Regions from separate parts of the Homo sapiens genome. Here regions 2, 3, 4 and 5 are each linked to region 1. Evidence: promoter capture Hi-C in human tissues and cell types (Jung and others, 2019). All regions are on one chromosome and are shown on one strand. Each heading gives the region's core, a stretch centred on a gene start or on the middle of the fragment in contact. The rest is flanking DNA. Distances are from core to core; before and after follow the strand shown. Region 1 holds the start of NEDD4L (NEDD4 like E3 ubiquitin protein ligase). Region 2 overlaps NEDD4L (NEDD4 like E3 ubiquitin protein ligase). Region 3 overlaps NEDD4L (NEDD4 like E3 ubiquitin protein ligase). Region 4 holds the start of LOC124904310 (a long non-coding RNA gene). Region 5 overlaps ALPK2 (alpha kinase 2).

What was found. Contacts are between HindIII fragments. The study calls those that stand out against the background at their distance.
Region 2: a contact is called between a fragment that was not itself captured here and the fragment with the promoter of NEDD4L in region 1, in 4 of the 25 tissues and cell types used here (dorsolateral prefrontal cortex, hippocampus, mesenchymal stem cells and 1 more).
Region 3: a contact is called between a fragment that was not itself captured here and the fragment with the promoter of NEDD4L in region 1, in 1 of the 25 tissues and cell types used here (mesenchymal stem cells).
Region 4: a fragment that was not itself captured here is called in contact with the fragment with the promoter of NEDD4L in region 1 in 3 of the 25 tissues and cell types used here (mesenchymal stem cells, spleen and thymus).
Region 5: a contact is called between a fragment that was not itself captured here and the fragment with the promoter of NEDD4L in region 1, in 1 of the 25 tissues and cell types used here (mesenchymal stem cells).

The regions. Positions count from the first base shown.
Region 1 is chr18:58,042,811-58,045,510 of GRCh38, forward strand. It overlaps NEDD4L (NEDD4 like E3 ubiquitin protein ligase), which reads left to right and starts at 1,416. Exons shown (of 31, transcript NM_001144967.3): 1 at 1,416-1,898. The coding sequence starts at 1,851. RefSeq lists silencers at 1,111-1,480, 1,501-2,050. The HindIII fragment of the contact is 3,203 bases long and covers 1-2,700 here.
Region 2 is chr18:58,361,026-58,363,725 of GRCh38, forward strand. All of the region lies in intron 19 of NEDD4L (NEDD4 like E3 ubiquitin protein ligase), which reads left to right. Among named protein-coding and RNA genes, the nearest start is that of MIR122HG, 84 kb to the right of the region's middle. The HindIII fragment of the contact is 3,377 bases long and covers 1-2,700 here.
Region 3 is chr18:58,338,756-58,341,455 of GRCh38, forward strand. It overlaps NEDD4L (NEDD4 like E3 ubiquitin protein ligase), which reads left to right. Exons shown (of 31, transcript NM_001144967.3): 14 at 2,283-2,414. Among named protein-coding and RNA genes, the nearest start is that of MIR122HG, 110 kb to the right of the region's middle. The HindIII fragment of the contact is 3,349 bases long and covers 1-2,700 here.
Region 4 is chr18:57,770,819-57,773,518 of GRCh38, forward strand. The region is part of intron 1 of ATP8B1 (ATPase phospholipid transporting 8B1); the gene reads right to left. LOC124904310 (a long non-coding RNA gene) reads left to right here and starts at 274. Exons shown (of 2, transcript XR_007066388.1): 1 at 274-412. The HindIII fragment of the contact is 5,328 bases long and covers 1-2,700 here.
Region 5 is chr18:58,484,903-58,487,602 of GRCh38, forward strand. The region is part of intron 12 of ALPK2 (alpha kinase 2); the gene reads right to left. Among named protein-coding and RNA genes, the nearest start is that of MIR3591, 35 kb to the left of the region's middle. The HindIII fragment of the contact is 9,694 bases long and covers 1-2,700 here.

The DNA.
Region 1 (2,700 bases), core at 166-2,665:
CGTGCCCGGTCTAAAGACTCGAGGTTTGAAAGGGTTGAAAAACCTCAGTATTGAAAGAATGGACAGAAATCTGACTTTTAAATAGTCCTCCATAAATAGTTCTCATTGGGGGTTTTGTGGCCTGTAAGTACTGTGGACTTGACGGCTCAAGACTTCTAGAGAAGGCTTCTGAGTAGGATGTTGACTCCATGGGGCTAAGTCGTCAAAGGAAACCCATTCTACGGCACAGGTTTTAAGCCAGTCATGCTGCAGGAAGGCAAAGGAGAGCTTAAGGTAGCATGGGTGGGCTCTTTTGAAAACGAACTAGCAGGGCGAACAGCAGATATTTAGTTATGTAGCTGGCAACGAGGAATATGATTCCTTCGGGTCACGCGAGTTCTCTCTGAACTTCCTTGAATGAAAATCCTAAATGCATCCTGGTAATACCCAAGTAGGCACTTTGACGTTTCCTTTTCAAAGGCAAATGGAATGTTCTGCGTCTGTTTTCTTTTTGAACTCCCAACTGCACTTAACATCTAAATTTAAGGAAAGGCTTCCGAAAAAGTCGACTGACGAATTTCTTTCACTTATTTAAAGTAGTCTCTTGCAGTCCTATAAATCGGAAGGATTAAATGAACTGCTTGCTAGAGAAACGGTAGCTGGGTGGTGGGAAGAATCCTACGGTGGCTAATAAGACGTCTCGATCATTTGCATATGCAAAGGATAACCTTAAGCTTGAGTTTGATATTTCACGTTGCGGCTCACAAATGAACTGCTTTTTATTCAAAGAACCATGCTGTCTGTTTTCGCGTGGGTGGGTGTGTAACCGGGGCGGGCGCTATGTTGGTTTTGTTCCCTGCAAGGTTGACACAGGCAATGGCGACTTGCGGCCACACTGGGGCAGCCTCTCCTCGGCTGGCAGCCGGGCCGGGCGGCTCGCTCCCGGGAGCTGACAATGTAGCCAAGTCCTGCTCGTCGGGGCCGCAAAGAATTTAAAGGGGTCTAGAAACATCCATCTTTTCCCCTTTTCACAGTTAACAGCGAGCTCAGGGCTCTCGGTAAAAAGACCACCGGGAGGAAGAAACGCTCAGGGCGTTTTTGTTATTGTTCGCAAAATCCTCTATCGCCCCCAAACGTCCAGCCCGCCCCCTCCCTAAAGCGGAGGGAAACCGGGAGAGGAGGGAGGGTCGGCGGCGCCGGCCAAGCGCGCCAGTACACGCCCCTGCGGATCCGCCCCGCGGCCGGGTGACCCCCGCCGCGCCGCGCTGGAGGCCCCGGGCCGGGGTGGGCGTGGGGCTGAACTCCGCCACCCCCGCAGCCCGCGGCCCGCTCGCCAGCCCGGCCTGTGATTGGCTTGGGGGGCGCGTGTGCCCGCCCCGGCGAACGGGGAGGGTACCCTCGCGGCGCCGGTGGGAGGAGGCGGAGGAGGGGGCGGAGAGAGCGGGGGCCCGGACGGCGCTAGCGAGGAGGCGGGCGAGCCGGGTCCCCGGGAGCGCAGAGGAGGCTCGGAGGGGGGCGGAGAGCGGCGGGGCGGGAGGGAGGCGCGGGTCGCGGGGAGGGAAAGCCCGGCCGGGTCTGCGCCGCCGCCGCGCGCAGTGAGAGGCGCCGGGGCTGCCGCCCGGTGCTCGGCGCGCTCTCGGGAGCCGCCCGCCCGCTGGTCCCGCAGCCTTCCGGGAGGAAGCGGTGCCGGCAGCGTCCAGGGCGCGCTCTCGGGCACCCTCACCTGCCGGCGCCCGGCCGCTTACCCGGCAGGGCGTGCGCAGGGTAGGGTGCGGGACCGGGGGGACCTGGAGGCAGAGGGGAGAACCGGCCGTCCGCGCCGCAGCACAGCCGCTGGGAGCGCCTCAGACCCCGCGCGGGGCGCCGGCTCCATGGCGACCGGGCTCGGGGAGCCGGTCTATGGACTTTCCGAAGACGAGGTGAGTGGCACCCCCTTCCTGCTCGGGACTCCCCGGGGAGTTCCTATCCCGCGCCGGCAGGGGGAGGGGAAAGGGGCCGTCCCCGGGGTGCTCGTGCCCAGCGTCTGCAGGGGAGCCCCAAAGCGGGAGCGCCCCGGAGCGGGATCCAGGGGAGCTTGGGTCCTTCCGCACCCCCCACCCTCCGCAAGCCGAGCTCATTGTTTGTAAATAAAGCGGCGCGACGCCCTTGGAGCTGGGGGTTCACTCCGCAGCTCCTCGCTTTCGGGAGGAGAGGGAGGGGGCATGCGTGCCTCTCTTCCCTCTTCCTCTCCAAGCAGCGTCTCCCGGGGCTGTTGGGCAACTTTCCGCCTCTCGCCCCTGCAGCCCGGGAGTCCATGATGCATGTCACGTCTGGGTCGCGCGGCTGGAGACCCGGGACTGCGGAGAAGCCGGATCGTTTCCCCCTGGAACTTTCTCTCTCATGATTGTGTGGATCAGCAGGCGCTCAGAAGCCTGTGCGTGCTTATCCCGGCGGGAATGGGGGACACGCTGCGTGTGTCCCTCCCCTCGTTTTGCAAAGTCTACGGCCAGGATTGTGGATTTCGGAGCCTCGGTGGGGGAGGTGTTCAAGGCTGGTGGCAGGTGCTCCTGGAAACTTGGGGAGGAAGCTTGCAGCCCTGCCATTTTTTCCTCCCGAGGATTCAAAGCCCGGCACCTCCAGGGTGGGTGGGGAGAGGAAAGCTTAATTGATCTCTTTTATTAATAAAGCGACTGAATAAGCCACGCCTCCCAGGCGGTCGGTTTCACTGGAAAGGGCTTTGTT
Region 2 (2,700 bases), core at 138-2,637, 320 kb after region 1:
GGTCCGGTGGGTAGAGTTTTCTTGTCCCCTTTCCAGATGTTAGGTTTTAAACAATGACTGTTCTTTCTCCATCATGTAGACCAAAGGCCAAGTTCTGTGTCCCCATGGGAGATTAAAACCCAAGCCCCTATGTCTAGGTCCAGTGCCCACTGATTTCTCTAATTGTGAGTCTTTCTGCTTACCTAGTACCTAGAGTTTCTCTTCCCAAGTTTTAAAAATATCAGTTCTAAGTAGGCCTAGCGTTTCTACATATTTTTAGGGAGAGGGGACCCTTTCTGTGGCAGCTCAGTGTTCAGCATTCCTGTAAGTTAGCATGCTCTGTGTATAGCAGATATCACTAGTAATAGCATTTAGTAAGTGATGTTCACACATGCTGCTGTCATGAACACTATCTCATGTTGTGTAACACTTTCATTTTTCCAAGAACTTTATAATCAGCCGACTTGAAACTCACAGTCGTCCCCTCAGAAAGGCAGGGCAAATGTTGTTATTTCCAATTTGTCAGAAGCTCAGAAAGCTTATTCTGTTGCTGACAGTCCTTGCAAGGGTCAGAATCAGGACCGGAGCCCCAGATGCGCTGGTGTCACTGATGTCCCCGTGCCGGGCATGAGCCCTTCTGTGCAAGGAGCTCCAATGTCTCCCGGCCAGTGATGATGTGAAAACATTTAGAACCGACCTACACAATAAGGCAGATTTTCATTCTGTACCCAAAACAGGAACACAGATTTAATGCAGAGCAAAAGGGCTTTAATCAACAGATATGTTCATTTTTCACGTAGACCTATTTTACAAGCTAACTTGTAAGCCAGAAAATGACATTCGAGATTTTCAAGTGAGAACAAATGATTTGGTCCAATAATTAAAAAAAAAAAAATGTACGTGTAATCTCTTCAGAAGCTGCACTGGAAGGATGTTTGTCCTGGTACGTTGTTGGAAAGTTTTCAGGAAGAGAATGTAAAAACTTGCTCTTCTTATTCTATCATGAGAACTACCTCTGGAGAGAAAAGATAATGAATGCAAGAGGAAGACAGTGATTTTTCAGCTTTCACGCATCATTCCCCAGAAGGAGAAAGGCTTGAAATATCTCAACATTTCCGCCCACACCTCCTCAGCCCCTGCCAGGAGACAGAGCAGGCAAGGGAACGGGCATCATAGGCTGGGGGCCACATGTTGAAATCTGCTCCTTGGGGAATTTGTCATTTAAGACAGTCGAACTTGCATACACAGTGATGACTGTTTAAGCTTTTTTTCCAACATTTTCAGGAGTAGGGGGAACTGTGATGTAACAGTGATGTTTGGAGAACCCTCACGAATACAGGAACAAACAAAAAATAGTTGCTGGGAATCACAGACTTTCAGAAATAGAAGAGCTGAGTCACGTTTGTTCATCCAGTCAAATTCTTCCACTTAACAGTGAAGAAACTCCTTAGTAGAGAGGATGTGATGCAGAGCCAGCTGATGAGAGTCTACCCGAGAGTGCAGGCCTTCTAACGCTGGCAGGAGAGAGTGGAAGGAAGTCACTTTTTTAGTTCCTATGGGGTCATTTTTTTCCTCATGGCACTACCACGGTTTATTCATTGATTTCCTATTGCCTGTTGCTCTCAACAGCTTGTGAGCTCCAGGAGGGAACTGGGAAAGCTACCTTTGGTTTATGTACTGTTATTTTTCTGGCACCTAAAATGCCTTGCACAGAGTAGGTGCTCAAGAAGTATCGGTTGAATGGACGAGAATGAACACCAGAAAGTGAGAAATAAACTAGAGAGGAAATCTTAGTTTGTGACGGGATGTACTGTTGGTAGAGCAGAAAACATGATCTCTTTATTGGCTTATGTCAGAACATTGTATTCTTTTTCTTATTTTGGTGGTTGTCCAGGTATTAACAAATTTATACCTTGCCTAGACTCAGAATTGCTATGTGGTTTCATCAGACTAAACACTGCCTAAAATAAATAGGATGTGAGGTCAAATCTGTTGTTCAGTGGAAAATCAAAGAAGACTGGCTTAAAAACTAAGAAAAGACCATAGGCAGTGTAAATTGTCTATAGATTGCTCCTAAGCTATATAAAGATGATGTATTTTTTGCTCTGGAATTACAGAGCAAAACACTGACGTGCTCATTTTCTGGAAGAGTGGTTGTTTGTTTTGTTTCGGGTTTTTTATATAAACATGTCTTAAAACTATAAAAGAGGGAAGTTCATGTTCTTCATTTCTTCTGTTTCTGGTCAAGATAAGTATGGTGAAAGTGTAAGGTTTGGAGTCTGGAGATACTAGACTAAGGATCAGTATATTTTATTAACTTAGGCCGAAATGATAACAGCAGAAGTATTCTCTGCTGAAATTCATACTAGTGGCTAAAAAGCAATGAGTTGTTTTCGAGGCTGTCATAGTTAATGTCTGTGTATATGCAAAACCCAATCCTTTTTGCTCATAAAAATATCGTAAGCTTTTTCAGTAGCCAAAACTCACGGCCCTGACTCTAAGATATTGTAAGCTACTTTACAAGGTAGCAAATAAAGATTATTTAAATGACTACATTAACATGTTACTCCTTTGCCTGAAGAGATATCACAACTTTTGAATGACTATAGTTAACTCAATTCCTGAGCCCTCAACTGGGGTACTATCACTCTATTTCATAGATAAAGCATTTGAGATTTAAAGAAATCCTTGCCCAAGACCACTAAATATTAAGGGACAAAC
Region 3 (2,700 bases), core at 151-2,650, 300 kb after region 1:
AAATACAAAAATTAGCTGGGCATGGTGGCGCTTGCGTATAATCCCAGCTACTCAGGAGGCTAAGGCAGGAGAATCACTTGAACATGGGAGGCGGAGGTTGCAGTGAGCCAAGATTGTGCCACTGTACTCCAGCCTGGGCGACAGAGCAATACTCTGTCTCAAAAAGGAAAAAACAAAGTAACCTGGTTGCTAGAATTCATACAGCTTTAGGATTCAGTTCTGACATGATCTATGACACATCCATGTGCTTTCAGTTGATCAGTTGCCTCCCAAGTGTCCTTTCCAGAGATTGAGTAACTGCAAAAATATCCTTAAGGTTTCCAGAGCTAAGGTTTCCGGAGCTGAGTTTTCCAGGGGCGGGGCCAGGGGGAGTGGGGAGTTATGGGAGGGAAGGGGCCTGGGAGAGGGGGAAGTGGATCACCAGAACGGCTGAAGGGGAGGGCTCTGGGCGGAGGGAGCTGAGAATGTAACACATTCCATTTAGTATTTCATTGATTGTATAAACAATAGTAGGTCAAAACTTGATAGCACATACTTTGCCAGAGATACTAATTGACCAGGAACTTAGGTTACAACTTAGCTCAGCAGGGGAGTCCATTGAAGTGCCCGGATCCACGTAGCTCTTTGTGTTGGCATCGCTGCTAGAGGAGGAGGGGAGGAAGGAGCTTCACTCAGGCTGCATGCTAATTCATCGATGTTTAATATTCATGAAAGGATTAAGTCAGTGTTGATGTTTCTTCTGCTCCTGCTGAGTCTCCACACCTGGATCCAGAATGCTCCATGATCCGAGTCTTTGTGTCTTTATAAACTATCTTTAGGGAGCTTTAGGACTTTATCTCGGGAAATATTAAGGAAATGGTTTTCCTTAATATCAGCAGAAAGTTTTCTTACACATAATCTAAAATCAGCTGCTTCATGATCTTACCCAGGTGATCTTTCTCTGAATTGTGCTTTTAAGCCTGGGAGGTTAACATACTGCTTCTCTGTGGATGGGGTTTTCAAATTACCCGGCAGCATCCTTGTTGGTGCTTTCTCTAATTTGAGATCCTGGAGTCCACCAGGGAACTCCAGGTGACCACCTTCACCAAGACACATTGCTGGTAGTGCAGGGAAAAGGTGGCATAAGCACAGGAAGAAGTTAGGTTCAGAGGAAATTTGTATCCTCAGCCTAATAGCAAGAAAACGACAACTGCTAAAATATCTGGAAGTAAAAGAAGCAGCTTCCTTTTGTAACCTCACGTGAGAGGTTATTCCTAAGGCATGGGCTCCTCCTATACCTTTAGATTCCCCTAGGAGCCGTGGTATAGCTGTGGTCGGCTTCTGGTTTCTGAGCTTTTCCCCACTTAGAGCTCTTTCACAGGCACAGATATTACATGCATCGCCTATGCATTCAAGCCCTCCTGGGACAGCCCTGATCTCCAGCATCTGTCCCAGTGCCTCCATACATCATCAACACATCCTTGTTTTTCAGTGTTTCTCCATCCACACTGCATTTCTTAGACTGCTTCTCAGGGATCTTCTTGTGATCAAATGTGGACTGTCTAAATACAGTCACTCTATGCGGGGCAGGTCTCTAAACCCAAAAACTGCCAAGCTGTGTTCACCTTCAAAGAAACACACTCCTATCAGCAGACTTGGGTGCACATAGCCTGGGGTGTGAGGCTGGGTGCTGGGAGACTTCCTGAGCTGGGGCACACAGATGTCCTGGGTGGTCCTCCAGATTATATGCTACTGTGTGACCATCAGTATCCTAGAGAAGGGGCTCTGTGTTGGGATTTTAAAATTTTGCCCCAGAAGCTACAGTGTTAGGGTCCTAAGCTGATGGAGGAATGTAGGCCTAAGCTAGAAGAGCACCCCATGGGAGCTACATCGAGGAGAAACTCAGAGCATCCCTCTCATACACAGTGACACTGGACAGTTTGAAATACCTTTAAGCTCTACCTGGTTTGGCAGTGGAATTTAGTAGCTAGAACAGATGATAATGTTTTTCCCTTTCCCTGTGATCACCTTGGCAGCAACCCTTTACGTTTGAGACTACGGGGTCTTAGAACCAAGTTCTGTAAGAATTTGGACTCTGCAACTGTATGGGGTTCATTTCACAGTAGATTTGAAGCTGTTGGAAATCTATTGCTGTTTTCCAGACACTTGTAAGTGTTTTCTATATAAATAGATCTAATTAACTTTGTCTAGAGAAAATAATTATCTGGGTGTACCTTACTTTATTAAACTGATCAGAAAACAAATGCAAGGTATTAAATAATAATGATTTCTTGCACAAACAGCCATCAGTGGCCTATGTACATACCACGCCGGGTCTGCCTTCAGGCTGGGAAGAAAGAAAAGATGCTAAGGGGCGCACATACTATGTCAATCATAACAATCGAACCACAACTTGGACTCGACCTATCATGCAGGTACGAAGATTGCCATCCAACTTAAAACCGCAGGCCATAGAAGCCGAAATGTACATGACCGAACTCCTTTCCTGGTGTTTATGTATTGTTCTGAAAGACCCGTATTTGTAAAAGCTTTCTCACAAAGAAAATGCATTACTTTAAATACAATAATAGCCTAAGGAAGAATTTGCTTTTCAAATCAGTTTATCACTGAATATATTTTAAAAATGTGACGTGAAAGATATTTTCAAAGTAAGAGCCTATTGCAGTGTGTAGCTTCTTCCCTGCCCAGCCCCCACTTTAA
Region 4 (2,700 bases), core at 48-2,547, 270 kb before region 1:
AGATACGAGTTAAAGTCACCGTTCTTCTAGAAACATGGATGTGAATTTTGTTTGTTTTGTTCTGTAACAGAGTCTCGCTCTGTCGCCCAGGCTGGAGTGCAGTGGCACGATCTCGGCTCACTGCAACTTCTGCCTCCTAGGTTCAAGCGATTCTCCTGCCTCAGCTTCCTGATAGCTGGGATTACAGGCACGTGCCACCACACCTAGCTAATTTTTGTATTTTTAGTAGAGACAGGGTTTCACCATGTTGGTCAGGCTGGTTTTGAACTCCTTTTCAAGTGATCTGCCCACCTCAGCCTCCCAAAGTGCTGGAATTACAGGCGTGAGCCATTGCACCCTGCCTGGACTTGAATTTTTGTCAGAAAGAGATTTGCAATTAATGCTGATTGCAACTGATGGCAGAATTAAGATGGTAAGTCTTATATCACAACCACCTCCTAAAATCAAAATGGAGCTGTTTCTGTAGGAGTCAGACTACCTCCTTTAGAGGATATGGGAGTAGTCCATCACTCATTCAGACAGTTTTATTAAGCGTGATATAGTCTACCTCTCTCAGCACTGGGCGTGGTGCATCTCCTATTGTTAGGCAATTCCCTTACTTCCTGATCCTTCAATTCACTTACTTCCTGATCCTTCAATTCACTTTCTTTATAATTACGAAATGGTCTGAGATAACCAGGTTCCCCTTGCTCAAGCTTCCAAAAATCAGGCTGACAAGTTACATTTGGACATCTGCTCTTCAAAAGCCAAAGGCAGAGTTTTCTGTTAAATAATGAGCTGTCCAAGCATATTTTGATTCATTCAGGCCACATACAGCAGCAGGAGTTTCTGGGTGGTGCCTCAGGTCTAAATTTTACTGTAATCCTACAGGTTAGAAATCAATGAGCTGATCAGAACATATCCAGTTTCCAAAGATATGAGTGGCACCATCAATATAAATTAGTTCTCCAGTAATGTCAAAGGGCACACTTAGCAGTGCTGTCAGAACAACCAGAAAAACCACATTCAAAAGGGAACACAGCCTAAGGCACACAACTCATGATAAATACCTGGGAAAAAACCAGTTAGCTCTGCCTTTAGCTGTTCCCACCCCAATTTTCACGATTAAAACTACAATCGACATACTAATTAGTCGGCAGACATCTCTATAATGTTTATACTCCTAAAAAACATGTTATGTTGGTTAACTGAACCTATACAATACTTAGAAATCTCCCTAAAGTTATCCTAAAAACAAAACAAAAACAAAAACTTTGCAAGCTTTCTGAGTTCAAACCTGTAATTTTGTTACCTATCAGTGCTTTATAAAAGAGCTAAGATAATTATAAGGAACAAGCCTCCTAAAATGTAAAATTCCATTGTTCCTCTACTACCCGCCCATCAGTGGCAAATAAACACCTTACCATGACATTCACTGTGAGTATTGCTAGCGGGAGAAGTGGAGGAGAAAGCAGTCAATTATACCTGATGATCAGGGATGGAGAGAGACAGGAGGGATGCTGAGTTGGCCTTGAAGGTCAAGTCCCAAGCTGGGCCACTATCTGATTGGGAGATAGAAAGTGAGAGGAGAAAGGCATTTCTGGAAAGAAATCCCTGGGGGCAAATATTCTGCAGCACTGAAGGCACACAGGATTAGTTCAGTTACTAAAGTGCGGGTAGACAGGGGAGGAAGAAGAAGAGAGTTGGAAGAGGAGACTGGAAAGCAGACTGAGGCAAGGCTGGGAAGGCCTTGGGTGCTAGCGGCATTTGGAATTTGTGTGCTAAGCAGGGAGAGGCCATCTGAGTTCTCCCATGCATTGAGTAAACAACACGTCCCGACCTCGTGGCAGGTATTCAGTCAGCTGCTGGTGAGCAACGTGGCTCCTGTCCCTATGAAGCTTAAAGTCTAAGGTAAGGCAGACCCTAGGAATTCGGCGCACAGAAGCCTCTCTGCTGTGATGGAGAAGTAACAGGGACGATGAGGACATAGAGCAGGGAAGGGGGCCTAGGAAGCTATTCTGGAAGAAGTGAGTTGGTTCCTGAAGTTGAAGCACCTGCAGAGGTGAGGAGGTGGGGAGCAGAAGTGCAGGATCCATCTGTGCAAAGAGGCTGGGGCCTCAACAACATGAACTGTTTTAATCAGATTTGCATTTTAGAAATGATAACCCTAGGCCTGGAGCGGTGGCTCATGCCTGTAATTCCAACACTACGGGAGGCAGAGGCTCTACTAACAAATCTCTACTAAAAATACAAAAATTAGCTGGGTGTGGTGGTGCATGCCTGTAATTCCAGCTACTCAGGAGGCTGAAGCAGGAAAATCTCTTAACACAGGAGGCAGAGGACGCAGTGAGCCAAGATCACACCATTGCACTCCAGCCTGGGTGACAGAGCGAGACTCTGTCTTAAAAAAAAAAAAAAAAAGAAAAGAAAGAAATGATAACCCTGACCAAGGACTCCAGGAAAAGATGGTGTTAATCTGTGGCCAAGACAAGAGTGCAGAAAGTCCTTACTGTCCTCTGGCAACAGGGGCCAAAGGCGGAGGCTAATAAGGTGGTGCAGACAGAAAGGGTGGGATTTCTGGCAGAACTTTCAGAGGCAGAGGCAGCATTTTACAACTCACTTCATCCGGGCAGGGGGTCTGGGAGGAAAAACATTGAAAAAGGTGCCCAGTTTCTAGCCTTAGCAACTGCTGCAGGCAGCTGAACTCTGCAAGGGTTCTTA
Region 5 (2,700 bases), core at 19-2,518, 440 kb after region 1:
TGATGCGGGCTTCCTGTGGAAGAGACTTTGAAGCTGAGAGTCAAAGCTGAGGGATTTTCCAGGTAAAGGGTAGGGGCAGAGGGTGCCTGGCATTCAGGACCAGTGACATGTAGGGCCCAGTACAAAACGAAAACAGGCTCTTTGTTCAAAAAGTAGTAAGAATTTCAAGACAACAAGCACAGAGCATTAAACCAAACACAGGGCCCTTCTGAGTGTGAGGTCCTGTGCACAAATTGCACACGCATGAAACCAGCCCTGCCCGGTGGGAGAGAGTGCTGGCCGTTGTTGCTTAATAGGGCCAAAGGCAAACTGGCAAAAAGAAGTCTGTAATGCTGGCATGTTGCGGATTCTGTAGCTGTTATGATTCAAGAAATCAGGCCTCCTTCATTGGCTGGTAGAAACTATAGAGGTCGACACACCTGGACTGAATGGAGAGAGTTTTTTCCCTGTGCAATCCAAGCTGGGTTTTTTAAGCTCTTAAGGGCGTGAAAGGTTTCCTTCCTCTCGGAAGCTAAAGCGGCAGCCTGCAGCTCCACCCTGCCGTGATTGTTATAAATCCAGCTGCCCCTCCTCCTCCTGGCTGGGGGACTGCTCTGCCCCTGGGAGCCCACAGTCCATGGCCTTGGGAAAAATGACTTGGTTTCTAAAAGCCAAGCTTTCTCGTTGAAGAAAAGGTCAACCAAAGAAAGGAGTTGAATCTGGCAGAGTGGGAAATCGTCTACTGCTAATGGTATCATTTTTACATCTCTATCTTCCTCTGCAGGAGCTCCCTGAAAGGCTGAAATGTCAGCTTGTCAGTGTTTCCTGTATGCCTGAGCGCTCTCTCCCTGGTGAGACGCAGGGCCTGCTCCGTCAGGATGGATGGTTTAATCCCACCTGCCACTGGGGGGGGACCCCGGTTGCTTCACACCAACTCCTGAGCTCCTCAAATGGGGAGTGTCACGAGTGGGCAGGGGCAGCTTCCCTGTCTGAGCACATTGGAAACAAGTCCCGGTCATTTGCATCAGGACTGCCTCGAGGCTTTTCAAATTCAGACAACATCTGGTCTCTGCAGAGAAAAATAACTAATTCACACTGTGACCTCCCAGAAAGATCACCACTTCGTCCTGAAGCACTCCCTTGCCGGCAGGTGTTAATGCCAGGTAAAAAGAGAGCCCCTGTCTAATAGTCTCCACCTCTGGAATGGAAAAAGCTGAGCTGGGTCAAAGGAGCGTGACTTCTGGGCAGCCCCTGGGTAGACTTCTTTCAGGAATCTGCCTCCTTCTCCACCTCCACTTAACCTCTTTCTTTAGACCCTCGCAGAAAGCTGGAGTCAGGCAGCAGAGGCTAAGATGGCTGTGCCTGGGCTTGGTGAGGCCAGAGAGCAAAGGCATCTCTGCACCATCTCAGAGACCCTTTCTCAGCCCTTAGCTACCTTCGAGCCCCAGCTCCAGTGGGCTCTCTCCGCACCATGAGAGGACATCTCTCCAACCTCCTCCCTGCATCTTCTTGAGAACTAGACACCCCTCTCAGAGTTAGGGGTGTATGCGCCCCATCTTCTCTGCACAGATTATGATCTCTCTCAGGACACTGCTTTATGCCCAGAACGCCTGTCCAGGGGAGGCTTTTCTATAAATGTTGAAAGAACAAAATGAATGGGGCCCAGCTCCATGCTCAGCACTACCTTGTCTCCACGCCACATTTCTGAACATCTCTTTCTCTAATTTTCGACCCTCAACTTGGCCTGTCAGACAGTGTTGAACTTCCCTTTCCCTGTCTTTCTCAGGTGCAGACTTTTCTTTGCTACCTAGCATTTACAGAAATTACAAATCTTCCTCCTTTCTCAATTTGGCCTCTGTCTCAGCCAGGATGTTGGGCTGCTGCTTTGACCCGTTCTCACAAACTGACAGCCATCACCAAGGCCATTGCCCTTGCCCAAGAAGAAAAATAGGGCAACATCCTTTGTGTTCTTAGATTGATTATCCCAGATTCATTCAAAGGACATGAATTCAATAACATCAAGCTCTCCTCTACCCAAGCAATGGGAAGTGCAGGTTTCCCTGCTAGTGACCCACCTTACATGCGACATGTGCCACCCGCTGCCTTGAGGGTTGAATCTGGAGCTGTAGGCCATCTCTCCAACAGGATCACCATTGCAGAAACTCGCTATCCTTTTCATGTTGGATAGATATAGGGGGTTGAGTAGCATCCTTGCCCACCCCATCCCCAAAGTCACGTCCTTCCCAGAACCTCAGAATGTGACCTTATTTGGAAATCACATCATTACAGATGGAATTTCTTAAATAAGGTCACACTGGAGCAGGGGAGGCCCTCAATCCACTGTTACTGGTGTCTCATAAGAAGATGACAAAAGACAGAGACACACAGGGGGAATATCATGTGATGTTGGAGACATAAGTTAAAGAGATGCGTCTATCAGTCAAGGAACTCCAAGGATTGCCAGCAAACCCGGAAGCCAGAGGAGAGGCATGGAACAGACCCTCCCTCAGAGCCTGCAGAAGGAGCCAACCCTGCCAACCCCTTGATTTCAGTCTTCCAGCCCCCAGAACTGTGAGACAATCAATTTCTATCACTGTGAGGCTCTTGGTTTGTGGTCATTTGTTATGGCAGCCCTAGGAATCTAACATAATGGAATAAAGAATCTTGTATTTGAGATCTTTTTCAAATATTTTCATTTTTAAAAATCTTAACTCTATAGAA